Regions from separate parts of the Homo sapiens genome. Here region 2 is linked to region 1. The links are contacts of gene promoters, found by promoter capture Hi-C in human tissues and cell types (Jung and others, 2019). All regions are on one chromosome and are shown on one strand. The core of a region is centred on a gene start or on the middle of the fragment in contact, and the rest is flanking DNA. Distances in the headings are between cores, read along the strand shown. Region 1 holds the start of TAC3 (tachykinin precursor 3). Region 2 overlaps RBMS2 (RNA binding motif single stranded interacting protein 2).

Region 1 (3,709 bases), core at 15-2,514:
GCACACAAATAACCATTTGGGAAAGAAATTCTGACTGTTTCATACCATCCAGGAAATAGAAGAGATCTGTCCCTTGCAAAGGGACCTGAGGTAGACTATAGAGAGCCTTAGACCACCCTAGCTCACCCCTCACAGTACCATCCAATCACCAAGTCTCCCATCAATCAACCCACCAAACAACATATTTGTAGGGCACCTTTTATGTACAAGGTGTCAAAGACATGCAGAGATACAGAGACACAAACACACCTGGAGACAGTGGGAACATGAAAGGACCAGAGAAACAAAGAAATCCAAAGGGAGGCAAAATGCCCTCTGACGGACAACCCCCCCACCCCAGTTTCCTCACTACAGCTGTCCAGACAGGCAGAGTCCCAAGTTCCCGTGATGTCCCCAGTACTCTGCCAGGGGAGACTTACCTTGCTGCGGCCCCCGCCAGGAACCACCTCCTCCTGTGGCTCCTTACAGACAGCCCCAAAGCTCTGAGCTAGGCTGAAGGCCAGGATGGCTGTGAATAGCAGCATGATCCTCATGGTGCCTGGGAGAGCAAAGGGACAGGACTCAGGTAAAGGAGAGAAGAGGAAGATACAGCATGGGTGAAGACACAAGAGACATTCATTACCAGCAGCTTGGCTTGACCCTGCTTCCCCAGCCCCCAACTCCACTGTCCAAGCCCTGGTCTGGAGAGAGGGTGGAAAGTATTTCTGAGAAGGGGGTACAGCCCTTGGGCTTAGTTTCCCTGCTACCCCATCAGATATCTCCCCAGGAGATGTGCAATGCTATAGTGGTGCCAGGAGGACTCTAGCTCCCAAGAAAGATGATAGATTTGTAGGACATGGACTGGTCTGTTTCCTCAGTCAGCTGGAGGAGGGATCCTGGATGCTATTTTCCAGTACTAGATAATCCCAAGACTTAGGCAAAAACTTTCTGGTATGAAAGAATGAGTCTGTAGCCACAGGCTCCAAACACCAACCAGCTCTCGGCCCTACAGGTGCTTTGTGCTCACCTTCCCAGTCCCCTGCTCCCCTATCAGAGGCTGCCATCTGCTTTATTCCCTCCTGACGCTGGCTCCTGTCCCCTGGTGCCAGCTCTGGTCCATCCAGCATTCTCCCACTTGCCTACCTGTGGAGCAGCTCTGTGCCGGGGGCTGGGTGGTCTGGCAGGATCAAGGAACTGGCTAGGACCGCTGCCTGCTCCCCTCACACACTGGTGCTGCCGGTGCTCCTGCAAAGAGAGAAACCGAGTGGAGGGGATCTAGGAAGGCTGCAGTCACTCAGTCCCAGCTCCCTGATAAAGGCTCTGGGAGGGTCTAGGGGAGCTGAGGGGAGGGGCTGAGAGTCACCAATCCCAGGGTGGCTGGAGGGGAGGCGGGGAGGCTGTAGGGGGGAGGAGGATGCAGACAGTAGCCACACACCCAGACACACACATACCCCACAGACCCAGCAGTGAGACCATTTCCTAACAGCACCCGAGCTGGCTGCTGTGTATGGTTTGTGTACAGTTTGACACTGCTGGGGCTTAGAGGACAATACTCCAAAATGAAGGCCTCAATAGCCGCCTCAGAAGCAGAAGTTTTTCTCTGACCCTCTCTTGTCCTCTTGTCACTCGGTTCCATTCTCCCCCAAGACCAGCTATAAAAACCAGAACCCCTTTGCCCCAAAGCCAGCCATAAAACCTAAAATTACTCTATGTAAAAACTGGCCAAAAAAATTATCTGACCGGCCGAGTGCAGTGGCTCACGCTTGTAATCCCAGCACTTTGGGAGGCCGAGGCGGGCGGATCACGAGGTCAAGAGATCGAGACCATCCTGGCCAACATGGTGAAACGCTGTCTCTACTAAAAATACAAAAATTAGCTGGTCATGGTGGCGCGTGCCTGTAATCCTAGCTACTCGGGAGGCTGAGCCGAGATTGCACCACTGCACTCCAGCCTGGTGGCAGAGCAAGACTCCATCTAAAAAAAAAAAAAAATTCAGAAAAGATGACACTCACCCCTTTTTTGGGGTCTCCTACTTTCGTTGTGGAGTTTCACGAGTCATGGGCAGATTCTTCTCAGGTCTAAAGCTCTGCTCTCTTCTACACTACATTACCTAATCTCTTTGGTTTTTGAGGATGCCAAAAATAAATTACTTTGTATTATTTAAAAAACTAGACATATAGCTAGTCATATATAATAACTAGATAAAAAATACAGTTTTAGAGATGACTTATGACAGTTATTCACAACAAAGTATTACTACTATACAGGGCTACTTATTTCTTCGTGCATTTAAATTTTTAAAAACATGGTCTGGGGCACCTAAAGACAATGAAAGCACTCACCATTGAGGATGAAACTCCCATTAAAAATAGGCTAAGCACGCCAGGCATGGTGGCTCACGCCTGTAATCCCAGCACTTTGGGAGGCCGAGGCGGGCGGATCACTTGGGGTCAGAAGTTCGAGACCAGCCTGGCCAACATGTTGAAACCCCATCTCTACTAAAAATACAAAAAATTAGCTGAGCATAGTGGCTGGTGCCTGTAATCTCAGCTACTTGGGAGGCTGAGGCAGGAGAATCGCTTGAACCCACGAGACAGAGATTGCATTGAGCCGAGATCACGCCATTGCACTCCAGCCTGGGCAACAGAGCAAGACTCCACCTCAAAAAAAAAAAAAAAAAAAAGACTAAGCACAGAGTGGGCTAATCGGCACTGGGCTGCCTGCCAGCCTTGGGGGAGCATCTTTACAGTGGGGCACTCGATAAAAATGCCACACATCTCGTCCCATGACATTTCCCTCTTTTGGGGGGCCTAGGATTCAATATAAAAATGAGATCCTTGATTAGGGGGGTTCTGTATTCTGCCTTCCAGCTATGCCTGCTTTACCCATTTAAATATGAGGCCCTAAAACCTATGTTTTCTTCCCCCTTTTTATTAAAGGGCTCCACCCTAAAGGCAATAATCTAATTAAAAAACAAGCTAGTTAAAAAGCCCAAAATACAACTTCCTAAAAAAAAAAAAAAAAAAAAAAGGCCGGGCACAGTGGCTCACGCCTGTAATCCTAGCACTTTGGGAGGCCGAGGCAGGTGGATCACAAGGTCAGGAATTTGAGACCAGCCTGACCAACAAGGTGAAACCCTGTCTGTACTAAAAATACAAAAATTAGCTGGGCGTGGTGGCACACCCCTGTAATCCCAGCTACTCAGGAGGCTAAGGCAGGAGAATGGCTTGAACCCAGGGGGCGGAGGTTTCAGTGAGCCAAGGTCACGCCACTGCACTCCAGCCTGTTGACAGAGAGACTCCAGCTCAAAAAAAAAAAAAAAAAAAAAAAAAAAAATCTGACCTACGTTATTTGACTTAGGTCATAAAACCTCCATTCCAGAGAGGGTCCTGCCCCACACCAGAAGGAAGGAATGAGAGAGGCTAGGAGGAATCTCAACAGACAGGCCTTGCTGGGTTTCCCCACTCAGTCTGTTAACATTAGATCGTGCCCTTTCTGTCCAGTCATATTTCTACACAGCTGTCCATACTTTGTTAAACCTAAACATAAAAATAGACAATTTCCCCTATAGCTTCAAGGCTTCATTCTAAAGGCTCCCATTCGTATTTAATAAATTTGTATGCCTTTTTCCCTATTAATCTGCTTCATGTCAGTGATTTTCACTGAAACTTTAGGGGGCCAAGACCACAGTTTGGCATCACAAATAAGACCACCAAAGCTATTGTGCTTT
Region 2 (3,433 bases), core at 318-2,817, 440 kb before region 1:
CACACAAGGTCAAAATACTTTACTATTATTCAAAAATACTTGATGGTAAGTCAAAAGTTCATTTTAGGCCAGGTGCGGTGGCTTACACCTGTAATCCCAGCACTTTAGGAGGCCAAGGCAGGCATATCACCTGAGGTCAGGAGTTTGAGACCAGCCTGGCAAACATGGTGAAACCCCGTCTCTACTAAAAATACAAAAATTAGCCAGACGTGGTGGCGCATGCCTGTAATCCCAGCTACTCAGGAGGCTGAGGCAGGAGAATTGCTTGAACCTGGGAGGCAGAGGTTGCAGTGAGCTGAGATCGCACCACTGCACTGCAGCCTGGGGAACAGAGTGAGACTCTGTCTCAAAAAAAAAAAAAAAAAAAAGGTTCATTTTATTATAGGTTACAATACTCAAAAACCCATTAGCCCCACCTAAATATTTTTTTTATAAAGATGGGGTCTTGCTGTGTTGCCCAGGCTGCTCTTGAACATCTGGGCTCAAGTGATCCTCCTGCCTCAGCCACCTAAGCAGTTGGGATTACAGGCATGAGCCACCACACTCGGCTAAGCTCCCTACTACTTCCTAGGGAAGTACTCTAGGCTTTGTTCCTTTAATCCAGACCCAACCAGAGTAAAAAATTCTGTATATTCTTATAGTTTACTGAGTATTTCTCATCTTGTCTCATTTAATCTTTACAACATCCCTGTGAGATAAATATTCTCTATCTTACAGATGAGGAAAGTGAACTCTTCAGTAGAAATGATTTGCCCAGGGTCTTACAGGAGTGGGTGTTAGAGCAGAGCCCTGATCCTTCTGGCTTTGAGAGCAGTAGGATGAGGTAGAAGTTTTGATCTTCCTTTTCAGATCTGTTGGGAGACCTGTATTCCAGAACAATTCTGCACCTGTGATATCAGAGCTTGTGAGCCTTGGTTCACTCTCTGAAGTGGAGATTGATTCAGATGAGTAATTTTCCCACAGTATTCCCTATACCTGCAGTTTTCCCAGGTGCCCTTCTTTGGGCTTTGGTATCTGCCCTCACTGTCGTAGGGTATCAGCCTCCCTTAGCCCACTTAAGAAATGGCTCTGCTTTTATTTATTTTAAGATTTTATTTGAAAGGAGATTCTTTTGACTTTTTTTTTTTTTTTTAGTTTCAAAATGACTGGACTAAGTGAGCCAAGCACCCCTTTTTGCTTTATATCTTGTCTGGTCCGTGAACACCCCCTTACTCTGAGTGTTTCAGACCTTGGGAACAAGAAATAGTTTCTCTTGGCTGGGCGTGGTGGCTCACGCCTGTAATCCCAGCACTTTGGGAGGCTGAGGCGGGTGGATCACCTGAGGTCAGGAGTTTGAGACCAGCCTGGCCAACCTGGTGAAACCCCGTCTCTACTAAAAATACAAAAATTAGCTGGGTATGGTGGCGGGCTCCTGTAGTCCCAGCTACTCGGGAGGCTGAGGCAGGAGAATCACTTGAACCCGGGAGGCGGAGGTTGCAGTAAGCCGAGATCGCGCCATTGCATTCCAGCCTGGGCAGCAAAGCGAGACGCCATCTCAAAAAAAAAAAAAAAAAAAAAAAAAAGAAGAAGAAGAAAAGAAATAGTTCCTCTTCCCCAGCTGACTCAAGCTTAGTAGCACCACCTGCTGGCAATCCCGTGTATATCTAAAGGAGAGTTCCTAGGCTTGGGACCATCGAACTTATTTTGCAGGTTGAGCAGAGGTTCTTAACCTTTCTCAGTTTGTGCCACCCTTAGTTATCTAATAGTTTTTCACCCTAGACCAAAAGAAATACCTAACAGTTCAATTTATTAAGTAACTGAATGGTCCACACTTTTTTTTTTTTTTTTTGAGACGGAGTCTCGCTCTGTCGCGTACCACAGGTGCGTACCACCACGCCTGGCTAATTTTTGTATTTTTGTTGTTGTTGTTGTTGTTGTTGAGACGAAGTCTCACTCTGTTGCCCAGGCTGGAGTGCAATGGCACAATCTTGGCTCACTGCAACCTCTGCCTCCCGGGTTCAAGTGATTCTCCTGCCTCAGCCTCCTGAGTAACTGGGATTACAGGCGCCCGCCACCATGCCCAGCTAATTTTTGTATTTTTAGTAAAGATGTGGTTTCACCAGGTTGTCCAGGCTGTTCTCGAACTCCTGACCTCAGGTTATCCAGCCGCCTCAGCCTCCCAAAGTGCTAGGATTACAGGCATGAGCCACTGCGCCCAGCCAGTCCACACAACTTTTTAAAAAAATTTCCTGACAGCAGTAACTTCATGGTCCATACAGCTTAAGAAGTGTTTATGCTTTAACAACTTTGTAGCTGTTTGAAAAAATAATACACAAACATTGAAAGAGAGCATGTCTTTATTTCATTCTAACTATACTTACTAATGGAATATGTGCCTGTTGGAATTGCACAACTTCTCAAAATTTGGTATCAGAATGGACACCTACACACTCATTTCCTGTTACGTATTGGTTTTCTTATGGTATTTGCTTTTGTCATAGCAACTATTTAAACCCAGCTTTGTGAAAATATGATGTTATCTATCAAAAGGATTGTAGGGGGAACTAATGTTGAAGCAGTGTACAATTTTGAGTTAGTAGTGCACACATTCTCCAACAGATATTGCTGTTTTTCTTCAAAGAGTTAAAATAACCCTCGTTGTGACCCTCTGAGTTCACCACAGCCACCCACAGTGCCTGAGAGCACAGTTTAGGAACTGTGGCTTTAGAGACTTTTGAAAAACTATGAAATCTCTTATATGTTTCTATGTTAATGTCTACAAGTTTTCTTCATATATTCAGATTCATGCAAAGTATGATTTCCAGCAAATTATAAATATTGGCATTTAAAATAAAACTGTTACTTCGTTTAAAAATGTATTCAAATGAGATCTAAATATCATAGCAATCTGATACACAAATCATTCATTTAAAAAATACCTGACTTTGGCCGGACTCCGTGACTCACGCCTATAATCCTAGCACTTTGGGAGGCCGAGGCGGGCGGATCATGAGGTCAGGAGATCGAGATCATCCTGGCTAACATGGTGAAACCCCATCTCTACTAAAAATACAAAAAATTAGCCGGGCGTGGTGGCGGGCGCCTGTAGTCCCAGCTTACTCGGAAGGCTGATGCTGGAGAATGGTGTGAACCCGGGAGGCGGAGCTTGCAGTGAGCCCAGATTGCACCAAGGCGCTTCAGCCTGGGCGACATGCACTTCAGCCTGGGCAACAGAGTGAGACTCGTCTCAAAAAAAAACCCGACTTTGGGAGGCTGAGGCGGGCAGATCACTTGAGCTCAGGAGTTCAAGACCAGCCTGGGCAACATGTGAAACCCCATCTCTACAAAAACAAAACAAACAAAAAAAATTAGCTGAGCATGGTGGCACGTGCCTATAGTTCCAGCTACCTGGGAGGCTAAGGTGGGAGGATCACCTGAGCCCAGGAGGTCAAAA

What was found. Contacts are between HindIII fragments. The study calls those that stand out against the background at their distance.
Region 2: a contact is called between a fragment that was not itself captured here and the fragment with the promoter of TAC3 in region 1, in 1 of the 25 tissues and cell types used here (aorta).

What each region holds. Positions count from the first base shown.
Region 1 is chr12:57,015,265-57,018,973 of GRCh38, forward strand. TAC3 (tachykinin precursor 3) reads right to left here and starts at 1,265. Exons shown (of 7, transcript NM_013251.4): 1 at 1,123-1,265; 2 at 420-538. The coding sequence starts at 533. The HindIII fragment of the contact is 18,684 bases long and covers 807-3,709 here.
Region 2 is chr12:56,571,941-56,575,373 of GRCh38, forward strand. All of the region lies in intron 5 of RBMS2 (RNA binding motif single stranded interacting protein 2), which reads left to right. Among named protein-coding and RNA genes, the nearest start is that of RBMS2, 52 kb to the left of the region's middle. The HindIII fragment of the contact is 8,132 bases long and covers 1-3,433 here.